Regions from separate parts of the Homo sapiens genome. Here region 1 is linked to region 2. The links are contacts of gene promoters, found by promoter capture Hi-C in blood cells and fetal thymus (Javierre and others, 2016). All regions are on one chromosome and are shown on one strand. Each heading gives the region's core, a stretch centred on a gene start or on the middle of the fragment in contact. The rest is flanking DNA. Distances are from core to core; before and after follow the strand shown. Region 1 overlaps LOC105372710 (a long non-coding RNA gene). Region 2 holds the start of MIR1-1HG (MIR1-1 host gene).

The links. Contacts are between HindIII fragments. The CHiCAGO score rates a contact against its expected background, and 5 or more counts as called.
Region 1: a contact is called between a fragment that was not itself captured here and the fragment with the promoter of MIR1-1HG in region 2, in 1 of 17 cell types (M1 macrophages). The highest score is 6.6, in M1 macrophages.

What each region holds. Positions count from the first base shown.
Region 1 is chr20:62,430,489-62,437,491 of GRCh38, reverse strand. It overlaps LOC105372710 (a long non-coding RNA gene), which reads right to left. Exons shown (of 4, transcript NR_187662.1): 3 at 6,428-6,628; 4 at 5,983-6,232. Among named protein-coding and RNA genes, the nearest start is that of RBBP8NL, 6.5 kb to the right of the region's middle. The HindIII fragment of the contact is 3,953 bases long and covers 3,130-7,003 here.
Region 2 is chr20:62,547,175-62,554,753 of GRCh38, reverse strand. MIR1-1HG (MIR1-1 host gene) reads right to left here and starts at 4,301. Exons shown (of 4, transcript NR_171007.1): 1 at 3,716-4,301; 2 at 1,089-1,289. It overlaps CRMA (cardiomyocyte maturation associated lncRNA), which reads left to right and starts at 3,193. Exons shown (of 7, transcript NR_033263.1): 1 at 3,193-3,328; 2 at 6,293-6,442; 3 at 6,754-6,927; 4 at 7,052-7,206. It overlaps MIR1-1 (microRNA 1-1), which reads right to left and starts at 448; the gene lies at 378-448. RefSeq lists an enhancer at 3,339-4,214. The HindIII fragment of the contact is 7,236 bases long and covers 1-5,822 here.

The DNA of each region.
Region 1 (7,003 bases), core at 3,857-6,356, 120 kb after region 2:
GTTGAGGTGGGGTCCCTGTCTACCCTGCGGGGGCACTATTGAAGTTTCAGAGGGGTCTCTCCCAGGATGTCCCCCCGAAGCCCCAGTCTTGGGGTGGAAATGCTGTCCTGGTTATCTTGCTTCTCCTCAAGGCTGAAGTGTCCACTAATAATTCCTCCAGCGCCTTTTTCTGGAGGTGGACCCCTGGCTTCCTCCCATCTCTAGACGGGGTGAGGCTCAGCAGGGTGTTCACGGCCACACTCGTGCTGCCCAAATCAACAACCAGCTGCCAGGCACAGCCCCCAGGGCCAACAGGACAGGCCTGGTCTCTGCCCTCCTGGGTCTCGCTTTTCAGGACAGAAAGGTATCAACTGCCACTTGCTGTCATTTCAAATGCATCACTCTGCATGAATGCTGAGGGCACATGCTGGCCAAGGGGAGCTGTTCCCGGCTCATGGGAAGGATAAAACCAGGGGAGAGGGGCAGCAGGAGCAGCTGTGCAAAGGCCCTGGGGAGAGGAAGGCACCAGCATGGCTGGAGCAGGGAGGAGAAGGGCAGGAATGGGCTGGAGGCAGGGGGGCCACTGAGGGCTTTAGGGGGCACTGGGGCATGGGGCTGTGGTGTGAAGTGAAGGCCTTTGCGGTCAGTCTGGGGCCTCAGGGGCCAGCACAGACCAGCTCTGTCTGAGAGGTGGGGTCACAGTCCAAAGGTCATGGGCAGGTTCTGACCCTGCCCTCCCCACTGTGCAGCCTGGACAGTTCACTTCACCTCTCTGAGCCTCCATTTTCTGATCTTTAAATTGCGACAAATACCAACAAGAAATACTAAAATTTAAAAGGCAGAAAATACCAAGTGTTGGAAAAGACGTGGAGGAACTGGAACGCTCCTGTGCCCTGGCAGGAATGAAAGGGCATGGCCACCGTGGGTAGCAGATGGGCAGTTTCCTGTAAAGTTACACAGATGCTTATCACAGGGCCTGGCCATCCGCGCCTGGGTTCCTGGAAAACCGGCACACGGATGTTTATCGCAGCTCCGTTCACAATCACCAAAAAGTGCAAATGACCCAGACGGCCATTGCAGGTGAATGGGTGAGCAGAGTGCCACCCACACAAGGCACATGTGCCACACACACAGGCCTCCAGTCCATTGTTCTGGCAGACATCAGAGCCACACAGAGCACCACTGCAGGGCAGGTGAGCCCCAGAATTGGGGCTTAGCCCACAGGGGTTCTTGGCTTCGCCCAGGAAAGAATTTAAGGGTGAGCCGGTGGCGTTAGCAGCTTTGATTGAAGCGGCCGTGCACAGCAGCAGCAGAGGGACCCCTCCTTGTGAGGTAGGACTCCCCCACAGGCAGCGAGCCCAGAGCAGCTGCTCAGAGGCAGTGCTGCACTCATATTCATACCTGCATTCTGAATTTTTAGAAAAAGAGTGGTACTTCCAAGTCATCACCATGGAAAGGGGGAGTAACTCCCAAGTGTCGCCGTGGCAATGGTAAACTGGCCTGGCACTGGTGGGTATCTTATGGAGAGATGCCTCTTCCCTGTCTCAGCCAGTCTTCAATCTGGTCCAGAGTTTCAGCCCTGTCTCTAGGGTCAAGTCCCACCTCCCGCCTCAGTGTGGTTCCATTTATACAAAATCCTATAAGAGAATTAATCTCCTGCAATAGAAAGCAGGGCATGGGGTGAAACTCACTAGGAAGAGGCATCCAGGAGCCCGTGGTGACCAGAACGTCCTACATTGTGATCTGGAGTCACACGACTGTCCGTATCTGTCAGAACTCATTGAACTGGACACTTGAGATGAAGCGTGTCCTTATATGAACTTGTGAATTCTTCAGCAAAATGTCCGTGACCAGGTAAATGCTCGATAGAGGTCATGATTCTTCAACAGGTGCTCCTCTGAGGGAGAGAAAACGTGTCTCAAATCCTGAGCAAAACACCTAAAAGAGCCGAAGGCAGGAGTGTGCCTGGACACCCACAGCAGCCTCTTCCCAGCCAAAAGTGGAGGCCACCCAGATGCCCATCAGCGGATGAGCAGATCACTGCAGTCCGTCCATGCAGCCCAGAACTTAACAGGAGCGAAGCACAGGTGCAAGCTACCATGGAGGTGAATCTCAAAAGCACAGTGCTCAGGAAAAGAAGCCACGCACAAGAGACTGCACGTGGCGTGGATACGGTGACACGAAACACCCAGCTGGCAAATCCGGGGACAGAAGCAGGGCAGTGTCGCCAGGGCTGAGGGAGGGATGGGGAGGACCTGCTAATGGGCACAGGGTCTCCTTTTGGGGGCAGGAAAATGTTTTGGAACTAGGTCAAGGTGCTGGCTCATGACAGAGTGAATGCGCTAAACACCCCTGAACTGACTCCCTTAAAATGAGTGATTTTATTTCATGGAAATCTCACCTTAGTAATAAGCATCTTAAACCCTGAGCAAAGCCTTGGCAGATCCTCACCCTGGGTGTGCCCGTGTCCCAGGGGTCCTCACGCAGGCACAATGGGGCAAGAGAGAGCTGCAAAGAGCCCTCAGGCCCCGAATTCCCCACTGACTCCAGCACAGAGCACAGCCGTGGGTAAGGGGCACAGCCAGCGAAGAAAAGGGATCAGTCCATCCCTCGCCCACAGGCGCATTCACCCAGGTCAATCCATCCCTCGTCCACAGACGCTCATCAGCGCCTGCTGCACGCAGATTCCAGGGTGGAAGGAGCTGGTCCCTGGGTCTGGGGGACTCGGCCCCACATGTGGTTGCATGGCTCAGGCCAGGACCTCGCCCCTGACACCCCAGGCATCCATGGTGCCATCCACGGTGCCATCCACGGTGCCTTCCACTGCCCCTTCACTTGCTCCTTTTCCAAGGGTCATTCAAGCCGATCTGTCACATAAAAATTTAAACCTGCACCAGAGGAAATTGTCATCCGACAAGGAGCATGTGGCAAGCCAGGAGGATTTCCTTCTGGAAAGGGCTTGGGTGAGACCGAGTCCTCTGGGTGTCCCCATCCACGCTCCCTGATCATGCCCCAAAACAGGAGGGCCTGGGCTTCCTGGAGGCCCTGTTCCTGCCATGTGTCCCACTGCCGAGCCATGCAACTGTTTGGACAACCCCAATGCCCTCGTCCTCTATCTCGGCTTTCCAAACCCTTCCCAAGGAGGAAGCTTCTAACTGAGCCGAAGGTTCACACAGAGGCTGCCAGAGCTGGCCAAGTTCATCAAAGCCAGGCGGCCCCTCCCCCGCCATGTCCCCATCCAGGACTCTGGCTCGGGCGGTGACGGATACTTCAGTCTCCCTTCCCACATCCTCATCATTTAACTTTCTTTTAGGCCATAAAATTCTGACTTTTAATATTTTCAACTCTAGTTTCTCATAAAACAACAATATTAGTATTTCTTTAAAGACACATAGACCATTAATGTATCTTTATGATGTGCGTGGGATCTGTGATGTATGGACCGTGCCTCCCCGACACCAGGCTCCTGGCCACAAGGCACAGGTTATGACATCTCGATCTGACACAGTCTCCGTGTGCTGCAGGACGACGCGGTTTTATTATCTGTGACGTGCCAGCAGACAGCCCAGCTCAGTCCGGGGATCGCTCCCATCACAGACACCTCCTTGTCCCTGCTCCGGCCTGCCCTCCAAAATCACGGATCAAGTTATCCCGACCGACAGAGATTTATGGTCCCATTTTACTCTCGTTAAATTCCCACAGCTCAAGGAAGCTGAGGCCACTCCGTGCAGACGCCCGGTCTGGGAGCGCTGCCACAACTGTTTCTAGCCAGGGAACAAAGTCAGCAGAGAGGAAGTCCAGAAGCACTGGCCAGGCTCGAGGTGGCCATCGCTGCCCCGTGGCAGCCCCTGCCAGCCTGAGCCATCATCCCTCCTCTGTCCGGCCCGTCTGCCAAGGCTGGCACTGCCCTGGAAAATGGTGACAAAATAAGAACCATCTCAGGAGTGTCGCTAGGACCCTCAGTGAGTGGCACAGCCCTGGGCCCTGGCACAGAACCCCTCTCATTTAACCCACACCCTCCAGGAGAGAGGCACCAAGGCAGCCCCACTGTCTCAAAAAGGAAGCTGAGGTCAGAGGTCAAAATGGCCCGGGGTACCCGCTGGTTCACCCCCAGGCACCTCTGCCCCCTCCCCGGAGCCTCCACCCCACACATCCCAGGCAAGAGCCCAACCAGGACTTGGCCTGGGAAGACCCCTCCCAGCCATCCCCCCAGTTCCACACACAGGGTCCCCATTCCACAGGTACCCTCATTTTCATAATATTTAACAAAGGTATAGGAACAAATAGTTTAGCCAGAGTAAAAGGCTTCTGTCGGCTCTTTAGGAAACACAGCCCTCCCCTAAACCACTCCCCAGTTCTCACCAAGCAGGGCCCATCCCGTCTCAGCCCAGAGGAACCTTTAGGCTTTGCCTCTTAGCACTTGAGTTTTCTGGGTAAGACACAACCCACCAGGGCCAGGCACGGTGGCTCACACCTGTAATCCCAGCACTTTGGGAGGCCGAGGCGGGAGGATCGCTTGAGCCCAGGAGTTCAAAATCAGCTTGGGCAGAAAAGAGAGACCCCCATCTCTACAAAACATTTTTAAAAATTTAGCCAAGCATGGTGGCGTGTACCTATGGTCCCAGCTACTCAGGAGGCTGAGGTAGGAAGATAACTTGAGCCCAGGGGTTCAAGGCTGCAGCAAGCTATGGTCTTACCACTGCACTTCAGCCTGAGCAACAGAGCAAGACCCTGCCTCAGAGAAAAAGAAAGGAAGAAATGTTTATGAAGTACCACCATATGCCAGGGGCCAAGACAGCAATGAACGGGCAAACACTTCCTGTCTCAAGAAGGTAGCACCCTGAAGACCCCTGAGCCAATACACAGTTTCTACCCAAGACTTGCATCTTACAGGCCTGTTGGGAAAAGGCCTGACCTACCTACAGTCATGGAGGGCTTCCCTGCAGAGGGGTGCTTGGATGCCCAAGAGCTGGCTGGGAGAGGGAGGGGAGCAGCCACAGGGGACTCCAGTCCGTTGGGGATCTGTGGGCCGGTCCAGGAGGGATCAGACCCTAAGGCTCTGAGGAGGCTGATGGCTGTCCTCACCTCGGTGGCAGATGAAGGTCTCAGGGAGGGGTCCACTCACCCCAGCCTGGGCCCCGTGTGCTGCTGTGTCCTATCTTTAGAGCAATCTGATGAGGCGGAGGCATAGGCAAACCCTTACAGGACAGAGGCCGGAGACGGGCACCATGCCCAGGTCTCCCTACCAGGCCCATTCTCCGGCCACACCTTGGGACCCTGGAGCCGATTCCACCCCACACTCTCACAGCCCCAAGAGTAAGGGACTCGCCTGCCTCACCCTAATCCTGTCTTTATATAAAACTTGGTTATTTGGTTCATTGTGAATTTTTCCCATTAATTTAGACTTCTTAAAAATACTACAGTGGCTGGGCGCGGTGGCTCACACCTGTAATCCCAACACTTTAGGAGGCCAAGGCAGGTAGATTACCTGAGGTCAGGAGTTCAAGACCAGCCTGACTAATATGGTGAAACGCCGTCTCTACTAAAAATACAAAAATTAGCTGGGCGTGGTAGCGCATGCCTATAGTCTTAGCTACTCCGGAGGCTGAGACAGGAGAATCACTTGAATCCTGGAGGCAGAGGTTGCAGTAAGCCGAGATCGTGCCACTGCACTCCAGCCTGGGCAACAAGAGCGAAACTCTGTCTCAAAAAAGTAAACGAAAGTTAAACTTAGGGTTACCATAAGCCCCATCAATTGCACTCCTAGATACACACCCAAGAGGACTGAGGACAAGTGTTCAACCAAAATCTCGCACACGCATGTTCACAGCAGGACTATTCACACCAGTGGAAATGTGAGACCACCAAGTGTCCGTCAGTTGATGACTGTGGTCCAGCCGTGCACTGGAATATTATTCAGCTTCAGCCAGGAACAGGAGCGAGACCCAGCTGAATCTTCGAAATATCGTGCTCAGAGAAACAGGCCAGACACGAAGAGCCAAATGCTGTTTGATTCTATTTTTATGAAATGTCCAGAATAAGCAAATCCATAGAGACAGTGACTGCTGCCAGGTACAAGGCTTTCTTGGAGGTGATGAAAATGTTTTGGAATCCGATCACGATGATGGCGGCACAAACTTGTGAATGTACGAATGACACGGAGCGGTTCACCTTAAGAGGGCTGACACTCAGGCAGGTGCTTACATAGAGAAGCATCCAGCAGGAAGCATGCTCACCCCAAGCAGCGGCTCACCTGGGGAGGGGATGAGACGCGACAATAAAAGGAGACTTTGGTCTTATTTGTCATGTTTAGTGCTTCGCAGGAGGGGGCAGGGGGCATCCTTGCAGTTCTTGTATTAGCAAAAAGTAATTTTTAAAAGAGGGTGCCTACGTTATCTTAAGTGAAACAACTCGGACAGAAAGACAAATACTGCAGGTTCTCACTCACAAGGCGAAGCTAAGTCACGTGTGCTCATGGAGCAGAGTGTGGACAGACGGACAACGGGGCCTCGCAGGGTGGAGGGAAGGGAGGATGGGTGGCTGCTCGGGGGTGCCGTGTGCATTGCACCCTCGACCGATGCACAGAAGGCCCTGACTTCACACAGTACAACGTCTCAATGCAGCATCATCGTACTTAAACCCCATGAAGCTATACAAATAAAAATCATGAGAACATAAAATAGGGTGACTAGCAGTGAGACCATGTGGAGGAAAGACGGGGGGCTTGATCCTTCCCCCCACCAAGAAAGCCTCCGCCCTCCCAAGTGCCCAGGCAGGGCCCACATCTGCACCCCTCCTGCCCAGTGCAGCCTGGCCCCATGGGCACACAGCACCCGCCATCAGGATGCCCCCCAGCCGGGCCAGCAAGGGCTTGTCTGCAGGGAGGGTGGGGATGGGCCCCGGTTGTCACAGAAGGCAGTCCCATTCCTGCAGGGCCGTGCTAATAGGTGACCCATTTATCTGGGGGCCAGGGCTGCAGGGCTGGCCTGACCTGGCCACTGCACTGGCCACCCCACCCTTTATC
Region 2 (7,579 bases), core at 3,052-5,551:
CCCTTTCTGCCGGCTGATGGCCTCTTCCAGGATGGCCATCAGTGGAGCCCCCAGAGCCGCCGCCACCACTCCGTGCTTTCCAGCCACGGCCCCGACCCCCCAGCCCTCACCAGCCCCGCGCTGGACCCCGCGCCTGCCGGAGGCCGCCTCCCCTCTGCCGCAGTCAGCAAGCTGAATATTTAATGTCTGGTGAGCACTTCCACCTGCTGACACAGGCAAAGTGACAGAACAATGCTGGCGGGGACACGACCGTCCACCAACGCCCAGGCAGCCTGCCGCCCCAGCCTCACCCCCACCACAGCCGCCTGGCTGGCTGTCGGCCGCGGCGGCCCCCGTGGTGTGGAGTGCCCCTCAGTGCGGCGAGAGAGGTCCCGGCCTGAGATACATACTTCTTTACATTCCATAGCTTAGCAGGTCCATATGGGCATATAAAGAAGTATGTTTCCCAAGCAGGCAGTCTGCATGCAGTTCCAAGACCCCGGGACGCCGCCCCGGTAGAAGCTGACCCCACTGCGATGTAGAGAAGGCAGCTCAGAGGCAGTGTAACTTCTTCCCTGGAGTCTACTGCCGGAGCCCTCTCTGTGTGAGCAGGACAGCCTTCCTGCCACTGCTGCCTGGTGTCCAGCCACCCCCAGGGGCCCAGGACTCCCTGCCCCCTTCTGACCTCGGCGCCCCTCCATCCCTGAATCCATCTCTCTCTGTCTGTCTCACACACTCACACGATCCAGAAAGGCAGAAGTGGACAGTGAGCCCCAGAAAGTCTCGAGCGCCTGTCCCTGGCCCCAGCAGTAGCTCGGTTTTGCGTCCATGGAAGAGACAGGCTGCCCCTCCACCCTCACCCCAGAGCAGGGAGGCATCATCCATGTCCCAAACTTTCAAAGCCAACACTTTCCTGTCCCCCTGGGTCACCTCATCCCAGCCAAGCCCAGAGAGGGCTGGGTGGAGAGAGGAACCTTGGGGGGCGCCCTGCCCAGCACCCCACTCGCAGGACCAGCCTCCTCCTTCTCCGGGAGCTGGACAACTCCTTGCTCCTGAGGCCAGACGAGGAACTGCAGACCAGAGACCCGAGAGGTGTCCTGGGGGCTTACCTGGGCATCTGCTGGTTTCCTGGGCAGGTCCCTGGTGAAGGCTGCCTCCCGGGACCCCGTATCCATGAGGAAGGGCTCAGCACCTCTCTCCGAAGATGCAGGCGAGAAAGACGATGCTTGGAGGAGTCCAGGTTCCCAGAGGGTGGTCAGGATCTCCTGAGAGGCCGTCCACTAGGGGGGCAACTCCCTAGGTGCCTCAGCCTGGCCACAGCAGACACCCAGTGGGCGAGGGAGCGTCGCTCCCCCGGTTCTCTCCCTCCTTCTCTCGCTCTTCTTCACCCTCTCCCCCGTCCCCGCCTCGCAGCGTCACCACCCTGAACCGCCGCGCAGTGCGGCCCACCTGAAGCGGCAGCTGCGCAGAGCCAGCAGCTTACATGGGCACCGGGGGTCAGCAGCCACCGTCACCTGCCCAGCGCCACTGCCGTGGCACCCCCGGGAGGCTGGTCCCACACCTGGCTCTTTGTGGCCAGCCGCCCAGCCTCCACCAGCCCCTGATCAATACCAATTTACAGTCAAATGCAGGGGGCCGCCTTCCTGTTAATGAATTTCCCGGTGCTCACCAGCTCCTAATGAGCCTGTTAAAGAGGGTTTAAGTAAACTTAGCGAGTGGCAAACTAAGCACTTTGGAATACTTAATTGTATCGATATGTTTTTCATTGCGTTTAAAAATGTCTCTGAGTGGGAAGCAGAGGCTGCCTCCTTCCCTGCCAACTTCTATGACCAGCCGTGAAGCCAGACTCTGAAAAATGTGGAGAAAGAGCCAGAAGGAGACCAATGGGACCTCAAGGTTAGGCCCTCACCAGCAGGAAGGGAAGCCGCCCCGAACCTGCTGGGAGCGGGGAGAGGAGGAGGAGGAGGAGGAGGAGGCCTGCAGGGTTTCGAGGCCTCGCAGTGGCCCAGGGCGAGCCTGGCACGTGCGGTGGTGAGAGGTGGAAAGAAGGCTTTGCAGGTGCCTGGGGGGGACGGGGGCCAGGGAGGCGCCAGTTGGGGGTGCAGGCCGGGCACAGACACAGGAGGCTTGCTAAGCGGTGGGGTCCAGCTGGGCCCTGGCCCCTGTCCTGCCACTGACCCTGGCGTGGGGTGGGACAGCAGCCCCGGGACATGAAAGGACCTCCCGTTGTCCTCATCAGGAAGAGAGGTCCAACATGACTCTGTTGCTCCTCCAGGCAGCCCGTCCATGCGAGGGGACAGCCCGGAGCGAGTTGGTTCTCTCTTACCACCCAGGGCAGGGCAATGTCTCCGCAGAGCCTGCAGTGTGCAGAGGCCACTGAGCATGCTGTGGCTGTGTGGCAGTGGGTCTGCAGCTGGGCATGGCTGGGTTGGAGTTTCACGTGGGGGTGGGTGGGGGCGGGGGGTGGGGGTTGTGCTTAAGGCTCTGGAGGCATCCCCTCTACAAAGGAAGGAGCAAATGGCAGACAGAAGCAGAAGCTGATGTCCCATTTCCACGTAGCTGCTGTGATTTATCATTTTCACGTAGCCAAGGATACAAAAAGGGCACCCGACACCGCAGCCTGAGCTTCAACTTCGGGGGCACCTGGGTTCCGCCGCTCATCTGTGCCCTCCCAAGACCTCCGCAATAACCGTCCCCGGAGTCCAGGGAAAAGGCCTCCTCAACGTCCCCAGCTCCCTGGCACATGAGCTCTCAGAGCCTGGGACACTCCCGCAGCCTGGCTCAAGCCCCCACGACCTGTGAGGCATTCATCTGGACGGGGTCTGGGGGTCAAGGGGAAAGCTGGGAGTCCCAAAGGGCAGGAGAGTCACCCCAGACCCAGCCAGAGTCCACAGGACTTCTGCCCACTCACAAATGAATTGTAGTCACTTTTCAAAAAGTTTCCCGTCTGCATAGAAAAAGAGCACCCAGCCGCCTCCAAGCAGACCCCACCGTGAGCCGAGCTGGCTCCTGTGCCCGGGGCCTCCTCCGGGGCTCTTCAGCGGTGAATACCGCCCGGCCCCCGGCATCAGCGCCGCGGGAGGCCACGCGGGAAGTCAAGCTCCCCAGCAGGGACCTGCACAGACGCCGACCACCAGGGCTGCTCTCCCCGAAGCCCCCCTAGTCTCCGCCCACATGTGCCCCCCGCCCCCCACCTCGCCGCCCTGCCCCTGTAAACGCCTCCTGACCCTGACGTGGCTGGGAGAGCTGCAGAAGTGCCGAGTCCCGGCCGGGGGCAGCCTCGCCGCCGCTCAGCTCGGGAATCCCTGCCCCCCACCAGCACCTCAGTGGGGGATACTGCAAGTTCAAGGTAAGTTTAGCCCCACGCCCGGCTGCCGGGGCTTTGTTGCGGAGCGGCAGGTGAATCGCGCCCCCAGCCCAGCCCCGAAGCCCCCATGCCATCCACTGCCCGCGTGGGGGGCCGCTGCTTTCTTGCAAAATGCCCGCAAGTCAAAGTTCCTGCCTCCCAGCTGGACGCGCCCTCCAGGCCCTGCCGGCTGCTGGCTCTGCAGTTTTCCAAATGTGGATGATGCCGCGAGCCAAGAGAAAACTCCACGGCACCCCCGCCGGAGCCGCACGGCGCCGGCACCCGCAGCACCCACCTCGCTGGCAGGCACACCCCCCACCGCGGTGCCCGGCAAGTTTGCAGGGGCCGTCCCGGCGGCCCAGCGGTGGTGATGGGCTGAGCAGGACTCACCGCGGAGCCCAGGGCACCCCTGGGGCCGGGCTGGTGACAGCGGCAGCGGCGGCGGGCGCAGGGTCGCGGCTCCCTAGGAGATGCTGCAGCGGCGGCAGCACCAGCCACCTCCTCCGGGAGCCAATCGCGAATGCAGGGGTGGGGGCCGAAGCTCGATGCGTCCGCACTTGGTGGGGGCAGAGAGAGAAAGAAGACACCAGGCACCCCCTCTCCACACCCCTGCCCTTCCCCCAGCCCTCCTGCAGCAGCGCAGACTTAGCAGGAGGGAGATCTTGAGAGAGAGAGAGAGAGAGAGAGAGAGAGAGAGAGAGAGAGAAGGCGCTGGTGCAGAGTTAGGGAGAGGCGGCCGAGCTGCACACCTTGAGCCCCGGCCTCCTCCGAAGGGAACCCCTGCACCCCAGCGGGGTCAGCACAAGGTAGAGAAGGTAGAGGTCAGGGTGGAACAAAAGGGAAGGTCCCGCGGGTGTGCACGCTCTCGCAGGCACACAGCCGGCTCGCGGAGACACAGGGGCGGGGGAGGGGAGGGGAGGGGAGGGGAGGGCCTGACCTGAGAGGCCAGAGCGGGCGTGGGGGCCCCCCTCGGGTCAGGAGCCGGCCTCACCTTTGCAGTTCTTATATACCCGGCCAAGCATCCCAAACACGCGGCCCTGGCCAAGTGGCCCCCTCGGGCTGCGCTCCCTGACCATATTTAGTCAAGCAGGGGAAAAAATAGCCTGTCAGCTGGGCCGCGGCTGGCCCGGCCACCGGGAACAGGGTGGGAGCACCCACGCCATTGACGGCGGGTCCCGGGCTCAGGCTGCTGTCCTGCCCCTCCCGGCCCCTCCCTGACAGGCCTCCCACCGGCTGTCCCTGCCCGAGATCCCCCCGCTATTTTTAGCCCAGCCAGTACAGAGGCGCCTCCTCAGTAGCCGGGCAGCAGCCTCCATGCCATGCCAGCCGGCTCCTAGGGTGCCCTGGGGAGACCCGGGCATCTCCCAGGCTGCAGGGCCGGGGGTGGGGGGGGCGGGCAGAATGGTACGGCCTCCTTCGCTGCTCTGAGCCTCCAGTGGGCTGAGCCCACCCAGGCCACCAGGAGTGGGTGGCCCCCTCCACAGTCCCATCGGCTCTGCCCTTTTGCCTAGAATTGGGGCCAGGATCAGGTGGTGACAGAGCCACCTGGGTTTCCGGAGACTCTCAAGCCAACCCCAAGTCATGACAAATGCCAGTCGCCTTGGACAGAGGCAAGGTCAACCTGCTTGCCGCCCCCAGCCAGGCCCTGCCACCAAGGGTGTGTGATGGGGAGACCCCAATCCCGGGTGCTGGACGGGCTCAGGAGCTCCCCCTTCCGGGATTTCACGCCCGAATTATGTAACAGACGAGGGCCTGGGACGGGGCCTGACGGGGATCTGTCCTTGCAGGGCCTGGACGCAGAGACCAGAGGCCTGAACTGGCAGACTGTCCTCACAGGCTGTGTGACGCTGGCTGGTCGTCCCATCTCTCTGGGGCCCCACAGGACTGGGGACCAGGTCGTGGAATGACAGTGGACCACAGTGGTCCGGGGACCCCGCTCGTTGGTGGCAGGCACAGGCCCGTGTGATGGGGACAATGAGCTTTGGTATTTGTGAGTCCTGTCCAGAGCATAGGTCCTCCTGTTCAGAAGCCACCTCATAAATGTCCCCAGTGCCTCCCGGACTTAGGAAGGCATCCCCTTGTGGTTCTGGCCAGTTAGGGACACAGGGCCGGGGAGTCTATGCCGCTCAGAACAGGCTCAGCTGCATCTAATCCCAGGGGAGCCCCTGAGGAGCCTGCACACCCCCCAGGCTGGCCCACAGGAGCTGAGGCAGGGCTCTCCTCCAGGTTCACCTCCTGGGCTCACGGCCCCTTCCCCACATCCCAAGGCCGGCTCTGCAGAGTCATGGGGAGAAGCCGGAGCCCCAGCCACACTCGCCACACACGCCGACACCCACTCTGGTGTCCTCCGGCCAGCGACAGCGAGGGACAGAGGGACGCCCCCTGCACCTGCCCAGTGCAGAGGCTTCTTGAGTGATGCCAGGCCCTTCTCCCAGCCCTGTACGCCCCGCTAAAGACCCCATGTCTCACCATAAAGGAGGCCAGGAGGTTTTAAGCTTCTACCTGGTCTGAGCACTTTTCTGGAAACTAAATAGCCACTCGGCTTCCCACTGGCAGCGGGAGAGCGTGGTGTGAGGTGTGGTGTCCAAACTCCCCCTGCAAGGCCCCTCCCCTGCAGCCCACTTCCTCCTGCCTGCCGTCTCCAGGCAGGGTTGAGGGGGGCAGGCCAGGCCTGCAGCTGGGGTCAGGGGCATAGACAGCCACAATGGGGGAGGTGGGGAGCAGTCTGCAGGCCTGGGCAGGCGGCTCTGTAAAGGATGCGGGTGCTTTGTGGTGGTGAGAGAGAGGGTATGCAGCAGACGTGGCCATAAATCACCCTCCTCACGGCAGCCCCACACCCACGGACCAGGGCACGGGCACAGGGCCATCTCCTTCCAGGAGAAGGGCTGGTGTGGGTGGCCAGATCTGACAGCCCCCAGGCCGTAGGACAGAGCCAGAAGACAGAGCAGTTCCCCCGTTTACCCATAGCACCAGCCTCACAGTAACAGCCGGCACACAGCACTTAGGCTGCCTGGTGTTCCAGAAGCTTCTGCAGGGGCTCTATGCTGCACTCAAGGCATCCCTAAGAGGAGAGCATTTTGCTGTCCCCACTTTACGGAGAAGGAACGTGGGCTCAGGGTGGGTGCCTCACTCTCCCAAGGTCCCATACCAAGCACTGATCGGAGCTGGGTGTGTTCTGGCCCCCACCATGTCCACGGCTGTCCTCGCCAGGGCAGTAAAGTCAGAGCCCATAGCCCTCGCCCCTGACGGCCCAGGGCCGTGCTGCCCGTGGCCCACTCCACCATGATTTGAAAGGGAGACCGCAGTGGGTAGGAGAGACGGGAGGGAGGGGAGAGGGGAGAGAAGGGGGAGACGGGGTAGAGGGGGCAGAAGGGGAAGAGAGGGGAGAAGGGCCTAGGCCCCCGAGACTTTCCCCTTGGTGTCTGCAGGTGGTTTAAGGCGTGAATGAATGAAGGAGCAAGCAGTAAGCCCCGACAGCAAGGCCACCACAGCCCTCGCCCCACAGGGACGCCTGAGCAAGGACCCAAGCAGGGGACAAGCAGGCTCACCCCGCCCTTGCGGGGCTGACCACGAGGCCCCGTCCGGTGGAACACGCCATGACGGTGAGTGCTCTGCCCTGTCTCACACGGCTCCCACTGGCCACGGTGGCTGCCAAGCTCTCAGAAACGGGGCTGGTGCCCCTGCAGACCTGGATTTTTTAGTCAGTGCAGCTTTGATTTGTTTCAGCTTCAGGAGGCTCATGTAGCTGGCGCCGTATGGGACAGCGGGGGAGAGAGAAAATGCACAGCCCAGGGAATGTGGAGACAGGCCCAGCGCCAGGCATGGGGGCCGGAAGGAGCAGCCGGGGAGCAGGGGGCAGGGCCTGGAGTCCCGCCTTGCAGGTCAGAGGTCAGAGGTCAGGGAAGGCCTGGGTGGGGGTGAATGAACAGGCCCCCCAGTGATGTCAGAGGGGCAGGCGGGGAAGGGTCCCGGAAGAGCACCCCGGGGAGTGTGTACAGGAAGGCAGGAGCCCGGAGGCGGGAAGGGGGGCCTGGTGTGTCCAGCGGGCAGCAGGAGGCCAGCATGGCTGCCACTGGGGCAGTGGCAGTGGATGGGTGGCCTGGGGCTGGGCTTCGGGCAGGGTCAGACCACGTCAGGCCTTGTAGGCCAGTGCCAGGGCTGCAGGTGTCCTGCTGAGGGGCACAGGCCTGGGCAGGCTGGCACGGCTATAGCAGGGTCCTTATGGCTTATCTGCTGAGGGTGAGGGTGGAGGGC